Regions from separate parts of the Homo sapiens genome. Here all the other regions are linked to region 1. Evidence: promoter capture Hi-C in 16 types of primary human blood cells and fetal thymus (Javierre and others, 2016). All regions are on one chromosome and are shown on one strand. Each heading gives the region's core, a stretch centred on a gene start or on the middle of the fragment in contact. The rest is flanking DNA. Distances are from core to core; before and after follow the strand shown.

What was found. Contacts are between HindIII fragments. The CHiCAGO score rates a contact against its expected background, and 5 or more counts as called.
Region 2: a contact is called between a fragment that was not itself captured here and the fragment with the promoter of INTS12 in region 1, in 1 of 17 cell types (total B cells). The highest score is 6.9, in total B cells.
Region 3: the fragment with the promoter of CXXC4 here is called in contact with the fragment with the promoter of INTS12 in region 1 in 2 of 17 cell types (naive CD8 T cells and total CD8 T cells); the score reaches 8.4 in naive CD8 T cells.

The regions. Positions count from the first base shown.
Region 1 is chr4:105,706,458-105,710,701 of GRCh38, forward strand. INTS12 (integrator complex subunit 12) reads right to left here and starts at 2,232. Exons shown (of 8, transcript NM_020395.4): 1 at 2,181-2,232. It overlaps GSTCD (glutathione S-transferase C-terminal domain containing), which reads left to right and starts at 2,327. Exons shown (of 12, transcript NM_001370181.1): 1 at 2,327-2,559. It overlaps LOC124900747 (a long non-coding RNA gene), which reads left to right. Exons shown (of 2, transcript XR_007058214.1): 2 at 1,444-1,639. RefSeq lists an enhancer at 2,307-2,556. The HindIII fragment of the contact is 4,662 bases long and covers 1-3,338 here.
Region 2 is chr4:107,706,224-107,710,467 of GRCh38, forward strand. The region is part of intron 1 of PAPSS1 (3'-phosphoadenosine 5'-phosphosulfate synthase 1); the gene reads right to left. Among named protein-coding and RNA genes, the nearest start is that of PAPSS1, 12 kb to the right of the region's middle. The HindIII fragment of the contact is 3,967 bases long and covers 82-4,048 here.
Region 3 is chr4:104,492,469-104,496,712 of GRCh38, forward strand. CXXC4 (CXXC finger protein 4) reads right to left here and starts at 2,426. Exons shown (of 3, transcript NM_025212.4): 1 at 2,233-2,426. All of the region lies in intron 1 of CXXC4-AS1 (CXXC4 antisense RNA 1), which reads left to right. The HindIII fragment of the contact is 2,935 bases long and covers 1,539-4,244 here.

The sequences.
Region 1 (4,244 bases), core at 982-3,481:
TTGCTATGTTGCTCTTATCTGGTCTCAAACAATCCTCCTGTTGTGGCTTCCCAAAGTGCTGGGATTACAAGTGCGAGCCAAATCTCTTAAATTTGAATCCCATGTTTCCAAATGCTTAGTGTATGTGTCTATGTGATTCCTTAATGGCATCTCAAATTCAGTTACAACTAAAATTGAGATTCTGATTATCTTCCCGAAAAGTTCCTTGTCCTGCTCTTACTTTCAATAAATGACACAACTTTCTTTTAGTCAGGTTTGAGACCAAAGTCTTTCCTTCACTGAGTCTTTCCCTACTCCTTATATTCAAATAATCAGAATTCCTGTGGATTCTGACGGCAATATTTTTCACACTTGTCCTACTTTTCACTTCCACTGCTACTACTGAAATTCAGGTTTTATTAGCTTACTTGAACTATGGCAATAACCTCGTTATTTTCCTTGACTTCAACATTGTTGCCATATGAATTTTCCTGAAACCCAGTTTTCTTCTTTTTCATTAAAATAAAAAAAAAAATTCTTGCTGAGAAGTTAGGGCTTTCTACCACCTTCGAAATAAAGACCAAATTTCTTGGCCTAGCATTTAAGAAGATTCAGTAACTGGCACAAAAATTATCATTCATCATCCCCAGATCTGCCTTATAGCTAGCTGACCCTGCCACTCTTATTTTTTTTGTCCAGGAAGCTCTTTACCTATTTTTATATATCTACATCCTATCAAGACCCTATTCAAATACTTCTCATGAAGATTTGACTGACAGCTGCTGTGCCCCTCTCCATTCCAAACCCTATTAATAGTCTCTCCATTCAAGGATATCTCATAGTGCTTTTTCATGGTATTGCAACTTTCTCCCTTGAAGCATTTTTTTTTTTTTTTGGCACAAGTGTTATGTCCCCTACAAAACTCTGAGTACTTTAAGGGCAGAGTCTATATTTATCTTTTTGCCTATCTCTTTGCCACTTTGCAAAGTACAACAAAATAATGGCTATAGAATTACTGGAATTAAGTGATCAAAGTATAGTGGTCTTATCTCTCCTTCTACACAATTGTAGCCATTTCCAAGGTCCCTTCAGCAAAAATCACAAAAGTAACTCACCCCTGCCCCCACAAAAAAAACTCCAAACATCAAAAAAGCAAAAGCAAAGCAATCACCTCTTTCACGACTGGGGACTTGTAGTACAATGTTCCTATCTGTAAAATTCTCACAATCTTTCGCCTGTCTTGCTTAATTCATTAATCCCACTGGTCTGTAAACTTGATGACAGCAGGAACTTGTTTTGTTCACTGTTATTTCCCTAGTGCTTGAAACTTAATAAGGGCTCAAAAATATTTATCGAATGAACGAACTAGGTTTTTTGCGTAAATGTCACCTTATAAGGCTTCTGTGATCTCTCCAGTCTAAATTGGGCATTCATATATAAATATAAGTATGTGCTTTCTCCTAGATCCATTTTTCACCCTACCTGGCAATCTCAAAAGAAGTCCAAAGTTGATCATATGCACGTGCCCCAGATGAAGGAAACAGAAACTGTTCACATAGAGTGCAGTATTATCGTTGCCATTTCATAATGGCTCTAAAAAACTTTGTTCTTCATGACTTCGCAAGCTCTTGCAACCCCTTCCAATAAACATTATTTTAAAGATGCTGCCTTTTTCATTCCTCCACTGAGTTCTTGGTTCTGGATAACACTGATACCTTAGGGACACCTGGAATCGCAGGAGAAAAGGCTCCGATTCCAAACCAATCAAGTGGCTGAAAGCTGACAGCAAACACTTAGAAAAGGAATGTCAATCCTTTGATCAAAGCATCACACATCGAAGTCCTAGAATGGGGGATGGTCCTTGACAGGGGAGCCAAAAGATGAGAGACAATGAGGGAGCTACGTAGAGAAGTCACTAAAACCCTCCGACAAAGTCCGAGGCAGGATTCCAAGTCCCTTGTCCCTAGACCTAGAAATATGCTCGGTCCGCATGTCCCGGCCCGCAACTCCCTCGGAGGAAGCACAGTCCTCACTGAAAGGGGAGAGCAGTCAGTCTAGGGCACGCAACCGCCCGTAAATTATGATTCCCCTTGAGGAGCGAGGAAACTAATACCCCACGTAGCTACTCTCCCACCTCGCTCCTGGCGCGGGGGTCTCGAGCCTCCAGGAGGCCAGGAGCAGAGTCGCTCAGCATAACTCACCGTTCCGCCCCGCCCTGCCGATCCGTCTGTTCCCGGTGGTCCCTTCGGAAACGGTTCCCGCACTGGCCGGCTCCGAAAGCAGGAAAACAAAGGTTCCCACAGTAGGGGCGGGGGAAACGTTTGGCAGTGCGACAGTAGGAAGTGACGTTACTTCCCTTTTTCCGGTCCGCCGGATTATGAATGACGGCCGGCGCGAGTATTTTCCACATAAGGTGGCTGTCGTTTTTCTCCTGGCGTCTGTGGAGGCGAGTGGTCTGCGGGCAGCAGCTCCCAGAGGCAGCCTTGGAATTCCAGCTCGGACTGGGCGGGAAGGCGCAGGCGGCCCAGGTCGCCGACACGCTCACGCACCCTCCCTGCCTGGCCGCGCCTCTGCGACCAGGTAAAGAGGGCGCTCGGGCCGCCGGCTTCTCAGCCTCCGCGACCCCCTAAGAACTGGTCTTTTCTTCGGGGGTCTGCAGGGCTGAGGATGCGGGGGAAGGGTGGGAAGGACAAGGGCGTGGTATCATCGTCCTGATTTTTCTCCCGCCCTGGGGCCGCCTCAAACTCCTTTTTGGCCACTCCTGCTGAAGGTGCGGGTTGAGGGCTCTGGGCTTCTCGGTAGTACGCGTTTCCCAGTTTCCCCCTAGCCAGTCCCTCATGTCTTCCTCTGCTGATGGAGAAATGGGGCAGCTTCCAGTTGGAGGCGTTGGTTGGGGTGGTTTGATATTTGCTGTTAAGTGTTACTTCAAGACCTCTTGGGTCACACTAACTTCTCTTCTCTCTTTGGCATTGAGTTTTCCATTCCAGCCCTTCCTGATTGCAGAAAGCAGTTCTATGTGAATACTACTTAACATTTACTCCAAAGGACTTGCTTCATTTGGGGCCATTTGCTTATGTTTTGTCATCACAGCAGTATCTCTTGGGTTTTTAACTTCTATAGAAAGTTTAATTTGCATGAAAGTTGCTTTGGTTTCAAAAACGTTTGCTAATACACGTACTTCCCATCCCAACTTTCTACCTGGTTTTGGGATGAGATGACTTGTTTTTTTCCCCTTTATTCTTAATGCCAGGATCCCATTCCTTGTCATAAATTCTTGAATATCAAGAAAATGCCAGCTTTAGTAATATATTGTGTGCTACATTATTGATAAAGAAGGTGGTGTATTTCTATTTTACCTAAGCTTATCTGTAAAAACAATGTTTACAGGAGAAAATGCAAAAGCTAGCAAGAACTAGTGATGTGATAATTTTAAACATGTAAACATAGTCATTTAAATCCATGATAATAAACTGTTATAACACAACTAAGTGATTCGCTGTCATATTTAATAAACATTAAGCTATGCGGGTTTTTTTTTCTTTTTTTTTAACTGCCTGATGGGGAGCATACACCACTGAGAGGATTGCTTTAAGCACACTCATTACTAAAAATTGTGTTTGTATTACACCTGAAAGTATCGTTTTGTGAGGTCTCACTTCAAAAATAAGACTGAAAAGGTCAATGAGATTTGAGAATCATCATTTCTTTTTATTTTATATACTTTGCACTTCTACGTGTTTTTGCTTTAATTTAAACACAGCTCAAACTTGAGCTTCTGTAGTAGTGGGCCCATCAATTTTTTTTTTTTTTTTTTTTTTTGAGCTGGAGTCCTGCTCTGTCGCCTGGGGATGGATTGCAATGGCAACATCCGCCTCCCGGGCTCAAGCAATTCTCCTGCCTCAGCCTCCCGAGTAGTTGGGATTACAGGCGCCCACAATCACACTCGGCTCCTTTTTTTTTTTTTTTTTTTTCAGTCGAGGAGGGGTTTCACCATGTTGGCCAGGCTGGTCTCAAACTCCTGACCTCAAATGATCCGCCCGCCTCGGCTTCCCAAAGTGGTGGGATTACAGGCGTGAGCCACCGCGCCCGGCCTGTTTTTGTTTTTTTAAACTTGTTTTACTTGTAGCTTTTGTTTCATCATCTGTGATTTTTAAATAAAAATAAATACTGAGTATCCAATTAGCTTTTCTAACAAAGAATAAATACTTGGAATGCAGATATTGAAACCATTTAGATTAAAACAAGCACAGGTATTGTTTGCTGTG
Region 2 (4,244 bases), core at 815-3,314, 2.0 Mb after region 1:
GCTTTGTAACCCTCTTTCTCTTCTCCTTGAACTCCTATACCTCAATTTTTGTACTTTTGATGCTGTCCTATAAATCCTGTAAGCTTTCTCCATTACTTTTCATTCTTCTTTTTCCTCCTCTAACTATGGAAGAAATCTGTCTTCAAGTACAATTATTTTGCTTGATCAGTGCTTCTATGGATGCTCTCTATTGCATTTTTCATTTTATTCATTAAATTTTTCAGCTCTAGAATTTTTTATTTTTTTAATAATTTCAATCTGTTAAATTTCTCATGTTGGTCATTTGTTGTTTTCCAGAATACACTGAATTATTTCTATTTTATTGAGGTTTGCTGGGCTTCCTTAAACAATTATTTTTTAATTCTTTTTCAGGCAGTTCATGTATCTCCATTTCTTTTGAATCAGCTACTGGAAGGTTATTTTGATACTTTTGGTAGTATTAAGTCTCCTTGTTTTTTCACATTTCTTGTTGTCTTATATCAATATCTGTACAATGAAGAGGTAGGGACTGATTCCAGTCTTTGTAGACTGGCTTTATTTGGGAAGCACTTCACCAGTCAGCCTGTCCAATCTGGGAAGGCCATCTGGCATGGTGCACAGGCAGGCTTGCTGCTGGAGTCCTCAGGGAGGCTGGCCTGGTATCTGGGTCAGCAGGTAGGCAGAGCTCAGCTGGTGCTGGAGCGGATGTGGAAGCCTAGGTCTACAGTGGTTGGTCTGAAGCCTACCTAGAATCACAGGACCTGCCCTGAAGCCATGGGAGCTGACCTAGATGCTCAGCATATGGGTGCTGGCCTGGAACCTGGGTCCACAGAAATGGTCTTACAGCCTGGGTCAATGGGAGCTGGTATAGTGCTGAGATGTATTGGGATGGTCCTGAAACCTTGGATCTCTTAAGTATGGGGTTGCAGCAGCCAGCCTGGAGGGTGGGGCTACAGGGAATGGCCTTGTACTGGGGCAGACCTGAAGCCCAGGGCTGTGTGGGCCAACCTGGCTCTCAGCTGGTCTGAAACCTGGAGAGGGCCTGAAGCTGGGACAGCTTGAAGCCTGTATCCACAGGTGCCTGCCTGTGACAGCCAGCCTGGTACTAAAGGTAGCTCTAAGCCCAGGGCCACTGGGGCCAGCCTGGCCCTAAGACAAGTCTAAAACTTGCATCAATTGGGTCTGGCCTGGTGGTGGAGGTTGGAGGAGCTGGAACCTTGGGCTGCAGAATCCTGCTTAGTACCAGGGTAGGCTTGGACGCTCAATCCATAGGTACCATCCTGGAGTCTGGGGCTACGGGGGCCTGCCTTGCACTGAGTTTCACTGAGGTGGGCCTGGTGTTGGGTTCTGAGGCAAAATCTTTTGCTTACTGCCCTCTTCCTCCCCTAAGCAAAGGGTATCTTTCTCCACGTGCTGCCTGAGGTTGCAGGCTGGGGGCAGTAATATAGGTCATGTAAAACTGTTCTTTCTACTCTCTTCAATGTGTTTTTTCTGATTTCTCTGCTACATCCAGGTGCGGTCATCTCTCACCTGGTTTCCTTAGCTTTTATTAAAGTATTTTTGTGCAAGAATAGTTGTTCAATTTATGTTTCTGTGTGAAGACAAGCACTGGGAAGTCCCATTCTGTCATTTTGCTGACCTCCACCAATACACAGATTTGACTTTTAAGGAATTAAATTTCTATACAAATCTTCAACTTCCATGAGATTAAGGATCTCTTTTCCTACCTTCCCCTTCACAATCCTGTACAGCAGAAATGCCATCTCCCACACATCTGAATCTTATTATCATCATTACCATTACCTGAAAAATCCTCTGGGACCAAAGGGACAATTTGACAACTCTTTTTAATAGGTATGCCACAAAAGCTGCACCCCTTCCCATCTACTCATCTCATTAACAATAATTATTTACACAATAATTATTAATACTTTATTTCCAATAAAATACTTTTACATATTTAATAATCACTTACAAAAAATTGTAATGAGTCTCTAGATTCATTTCTTTTCAATAAACTGATGAAGCAAATACAACTTACCAGCTCTACATTTCCAAGAACTTAAAAAAGAGGGCTTCAGAAGTAGACATTTGTATATCTTGAGAAGCAGTGGCACCTCTTTAGCTTTAGCTCCCATTGATACTGGCTAAGGAGGAAAAGGGAGCTAAAGTCTCTGCTAAAAGGGAATTGCAGAGGGTGCTATACACATTTTGCTGCCTATACTGGTAGAACCTGTTTGGCTTGGTCATTTTGTTTGAGGATTTTTCCAAGTTACTTCACTCTTTATAGACAAGAAGAAACATATATCTAATGAATTTTAATTGATTTGGGCTCTGTAAAATATCTTCTGCTTTTCTTATCAAATCAAGCTAGAATGCATAAAAATTATCTGTCAAGCTATCAACTGCTGAGAATATGGCTGAGAAAAAATACAGACAGGGTAAGTAGAGACCGTCTGTTTTAATCTCTAAAAAGAATGCTCCCTCAGTTTCTTGCCTCCTACATTTAAAAAGATTCTGGCAGCAAACATAGTACTCTGGATATAAGGAGATTTTTTTTGGTTTATGTATGTTTGATATTGTTAAATCAAGTTAAGCCTAAAGCTACCTCTTTTACATATTTTAAGTTCAGCCTAAAGGTTTCTCCATATGTACTAAACTAACCTAGCTGGAGACAAACAGACTGTATCCACCCTTGTGCCAATGACTGAGTTTTGGCCAATCAAATGTGGCCAACTGTTCAAACCATGTTCAAATAAGTCAAATGCTGAGCTATAACCAATCCAGTTGTTTCTGGACCTCACTTCCATTTTCTGTGCACCACTTTCCTTTTTCTGTCCATAAATCTTCTACCATGCAGCTGCACTGGAGCCTCTGAGCCTACTCTGGCTCAGGAGGCTGCCTGATTCACGAATTGTTCTTTGCTCAAACTCTTTTAAATTTAATTCAGCTAAAGTTTTTAACAATATTTTTCATATTAAAAAATAAACTTAAAAAAAATTGCCACATTGTCCTAACTCCCAATTTTTCAAAGTAAATCAAAGAGCACTTTTATAAAACTACTGGAATTGAAACAGCCTTTGCAAAAATTACAAGTGAGAAAATTGTTAACAGTGAAAAAGATCTGATCTAACCAACCTCCATCTTGCCTTTAACCTCCAAACTGCCCTTAGGTATTGCTGGGTTTGGGTCAAGCTAACTTTGGGAGAAATTTAGTTTTTAGTTTAAATGATAATACTACTTCCCCAAAAGTAAACCATCTTTTAAAGCTAATAAAAGACCACCAGGTTAGGAGATGAGAGGAGCCTGAATCCTCCCAAGGTGTAAACATAAATGATTACCAGCCACTATTCCAGAAGTCACAAGATTTTCAACTTCCCCAGTTACTCCTGCAGATGACATCGCTATTGTAGAACCTAAGATTGGCCTTTTGAGATGTCTTTTCAGGTTTTTGCATTTCTGACTCTCAATGGCTCCACCTGGACCCACCAACCACCTGTGTGCTCCCAACCAGAAGTGTACTTAACACACTAGGACTATCTTCCACACCCCTATGATTACATCCCCAACGAACTGGCTGCACCCATTGCCTTGCCAACCAAACTATCCTTAAAAAACTCTGGCCTCTAAATTTTGAGGAAGGCTGATTTGTTCAATAATAAAAGTCTCCTGTTCAGCTGGCTCTGCATGAATTAAACTCTTTCTCTATTGCAATTACCCTGTCTTGATAAATTTGCCTGTGGGCAGCAGGCAAAATGAACGCATTGGGTGGTTACAGAATTGCAAAGTGGTAGACTTAGGCCTGAATTTTTAGACTCCACAGCCACTTATACATGTAATCTTCTTCTACTTCCCCTTTCCTTCCTTCTGCACCCACTTCAGCCAAATCCTTTCTATAATTCTGCTGAGGAAACATGACATTAATGACTCATTAAGGGTTGAGAATGAGTTACTTCCTTCCACCTCTAAATTTCTATTCTTGGCTTTCTGGGTTGGAATTTTTTTTTAAAGTACATTTCTATACTGAGTCTTCTGTGCCCTAGTTTCCATACACAGGAGAGAGAAACCAAGCTTAGTGCTTCTTACTTAATAGTCTGGGTGCTTTGTAGAAAAATATATATATATGTATATCTGGCTCAGTGTAAGTATGTGTACCTAGGAAGTCCCTATAACATTTACTGCCCATATCATTCTTTTGTTATTTATGTACCATTAACACATTTATTTGTCTTCTTGTGCCTATATATTATTTCCTAGAAAGTAGG
Region 3 (4,244 bases), core at 1,176-3,675, 1.2 Mb before region 1:
TGCCTGGGCATGCAAATGCTGTAAAGTAGAAAACAGCAATGGCCCTATGAGGAAAATGAACAGGAAATTAGCAAATGAAGTACTGAAAAAGTCTACAATACATCCGAGTATAAACTGTAAGCAAACACAATACAACTGAGAGCTAAGAGACTGCCCACATACAATCTGAACTAAAGAGGCAGGGAAAAAAGAACTACCAGCTGCCACAGTATCCTTCTGTGTCTGCGGTCATTAGTTTGAATCCCAGCACAGCTGGCTCTGTTAGGGTCTTAATTCAATGGACCAAGGACAGGTCTCAATTGTACAAGCCATTTGGTGGTGGGTCTTGGTGGGGGTAAGAGGGTGGTGTTCTACTTGATTTTTTTTAAGGTAGAAAATAAAGATAAGCCAGATAATTACATATATACATATTTATTTATATCAGCAATGTCTCAGGTTTTAAACCAAGTGCCTGCAGCCTCTATAAGAATATTCCTAATCATTCCTAATGGAGATTGCTGTCTCTTCCGAAGACAAGAGGAAAGCATGGGACTTTTTGAAAAGGATATCTCACAATCACTGATTTTTACATTGAGTAAAAGGGGGGGGGGCTTTAACGTGTTCTTTGCCAGAGAAAAATAACAAAATTATTTTTTAATTTTGCTCTTTTTAAGAGGAAAGTTTAATGTTAACTGGGTATTTGCATTAATCTCCTTGCTTACAGGCCATTATTATGCTTTAGGAAGAGGTATTTTAGTTGTTTATTACAGAGGGAGAAGTACATCACAGCCTTTTAAGAAGCAAAGCAAAGGCATAAAGTGTATATTCACTTAAAAAACCAGTTTCTTTGTTTCCAGATTTTTTGGCCAGAATATCTTTTTGTGACATCTTTTGAAGCCCATAGATTGGTCTAGAATGCAGAGTTCAGGGAATTCTACATGGGGGCCCAATAGTCTCCGTCTCAAATATTCAGAGTTCAAAATGGTTATCAATTATAGTAATTATGCTTATAATTAGGTTAATGAACCAGTTATGCCCAAACTCCAAGTGCAAAAACTTCAAGACCTACTGATGAGGTGCTCTAAAAAGAGGGGTTTATGTAAACAAATCCCTATTAGGCAAAGTAAATCAAGATAAGGAACCTCACCCCAGGCTGGATTAGAAGCTTGCAGGCATCTTTCAATCACAGCAAGTCCCTAATCACTCAGGAACCACCTCTGTGGTTTCGCATTAGGGAAAACTGCTGCCTTCTCAGGTCTGAGGGCAATACAAAAGGTGCCCCCAAAATGCTCTTGGCTAAATATTCTTGATGCTTGGAAGGGGTGAGGGAAGACACAGCAAGAATATGCATATAGCTTCAGTTTCTGCGAATCACATTGTAACTGCAAGACCATAATAACTGCTACTCAGTAAAAACTAGTTATGTCAACCATGCATTAGATATCATCACATTGAGTGGAGGGAAAATTTTCAACCTTTTAGTCTTTTGACCTTGTTCCAAATAAATAAATAATTTAACGTCCCTTTTTTAGAGTCTTAGAGTGGTGTTTCCAAACACAAGCTTTCCTTGCTTTTCTGATTGCCATCACCATCCCTCTTCCTACCTCAAGGTTTAATACCACCAGAAACTGTAGAAAATGATTATGCCCAGTATCCAGGTCATTATTGTTTAATCAATGCATCTCTGGAGCATGAAAAAGGTATCTAAGCCACAGCTATTGTTTGGATTTTATTTAAAAACAAAATAAAACACACACAAATAACTATAGTTCTATGCCAAAGCTAAATTAGAGATCCATACTTCATGATCCTGTTTTGCCTTTAAACAATGTGACTTTACATGCCTAATACTGTATGTCTGGTCTACCAGAGACATAGAGATCAAAGGTCATATTTAACATTCAGGAGGAGGGGCGGGTGCAGACTAATTAATAAATTAATACAGCGACGCTTTTTCTTGCTGGAGTCCAGCATTAATAATCTACTTTCACAATCCCAACGGACAGCAAACATTTAAGAGAAAAAAAAGCCAGAGAAAGAGAAAGAACAATCACTTACCAGTCTCTTTTTATTTGGGGAGCCTTAGAATTTGCAGACGCTGCCAGTCTGCCTTTAATTAGTTGCACATCACCCCCTAACACAAAGAAACACAAATCCAGATGTGTCTTGGCAGCTCCCAATTACAACTTTAATACTTGTAAACAAACTGTTGGGGGGGGGGGGGTAAATAAATATGCGGATCAAAAAAAATACCTGTAAATGGCTTTTTTTTCTTGTTGCAGAGAGAAGGAGGAGGAGATGGTGTTAGTGGTGGGGGTGGAAGGAGGAGGAGGTGGGGGGAGAGGAAAGAGTCGAGTGTGAGTGTATGTGTGAGAGCGCGGGTCTGTTGTCGGTGGTCTCTCCTCTCCCAGCGCGTTGCTCTCCGTCCGTCTCCAGTCGCTGTGTGCGAGGGAGGGAGGGAGCCGGGGAGTCTCTCCTCTCTCTCTCCCCTCTCTCTCTCTCTCTCTCTTCCCCTCTCTCTCACCCTCCCCCCTTCTCTCTCTGTTTGTGTGTGTGCGAGTGTGCGGTTGCTGGGGGAGGGGAGCCACAGAGAAAGGCGAGGGAGGAGGTGTGGAGGCTGGGGGCGGGGGCGCGGGGGTGGGGGTGATTGGCGCCGAGGTGAGGAGGACGCAGGGACGTGGACACCTACTGATGATTGGCTGCAAATTACACGGGGAACAAGAGGCGCACGCGGGCCAGCGCTCCTTTTCACAAATCCTCTCCTCGGCAGAGGAGCCACGTTTTCCCTGCTCGCCTGCGGATCGCCCTCCCTCCTCGCGCCCGGCTCTCCGGCTCAGCCCAGCACACAGGGCTGTTGATTATTTTCTTTTGCTCTCGGAGATAATTGTTTGGAAGGGTTGGAAAGAGGGCGTTTCCGCCACTCTGCGTGTGGGGTGTGTGTGTGCGTGCGTGTGCGGGTGTGTGTGTAAATAAACTTGTCTGGGATTTCTGGCTGGGTTGAGAAGAGCAATACAAGAAACAGAGAAAAGGTCATGTTTGTTTGAAGAATGCTCTTAGTTCGTACCCAATGGCATGGTTTTAAATAAATTTCCTGGTGTACCCAGGAAGACTTTAAAAAAAAATACCATTTAGATCTTTAAAGTAAGGGAAAACGGACCGGTGTGGTTCTTCAGACCCTCGAAGTACTATTATGCCAGAATGTAAAAAATCGGTGATATGATGCTTGGCCAATTTCAAAATCCATCTCAATCTCTGTCTCTCTTCTCTACTCTTCTCTCTCTCCTCCCAAAATCCTCTTTTACTATTCCATCTGGTAGTTCCAAAGAATAAATCAGATTTTTAACTCACTGCCCTATTTTTTAATTTCAAACTTTACTTAAACAAAAACTTTTGTCTTTCAGTCTATTTTAGAATAGTATGTAATTAACATTTCACTTCTTGCCACTTGGGAAAACATAGTTTATGAATTGAAACATAAATATTGTACGGCACGTCAAATATAAATAAAACTCGTTCATAAATGCAGCTGTAAATTAACCTCTTCACTGCTGCCTCAAATAAAATATTTGTGGACACATGCTATCCTACTATTAAAGTATACTCTAGTGGAAATAGTTATAAGATACAGAATTATGAATACTTTTGAATAATTTTTTTTCTAAGAGCAAAACAGTGGCTAAGGTAAGTTATAGAGTAGGAAAGAAAAAACTTAAGATTATTTAAATTGGTGTTATCAAGCAGAGTACAAGTTTTGTATTAAAATTAAGTGTTTATTCTAGAGTAATGCAATATTAATTGTTCAGATAAGTGAGGAAAATATAATGTTTTGTTTCTTTAATAAGAAAAAAAAGCTGAAAAGACATTTTAAACCATTTTGTATTTGAATTTTCAAAAGATAGACTTTGACCATATCAAGACATTACCAACTATGGAGGATAAATTGTTGATAACAAGTTTGAAACTGTGGTGTGTGTATGCCTAAATGAAGGTGTTATTTCAAGAGTGGGCTACTATTGCAATAGGAAACAGGTGTATTTTGTGACTCATTGATTAATATACATGTTTTGTAATTTTTTTAAAGCATAAGCTGTTTGATTATTACCGGTTATTTGACATCTATAGACAAAATAACTGGAGGGTTAATAATTATTCAAGTTAATAAGATATTTTTATTCTTGTGCTAATGCATTATAAAAGCAAAAAAGGAAATTTTCCATTTGATTATTTTGTTTTAGCTCAGCTTCATAGGAAATTTATCAGGAAAA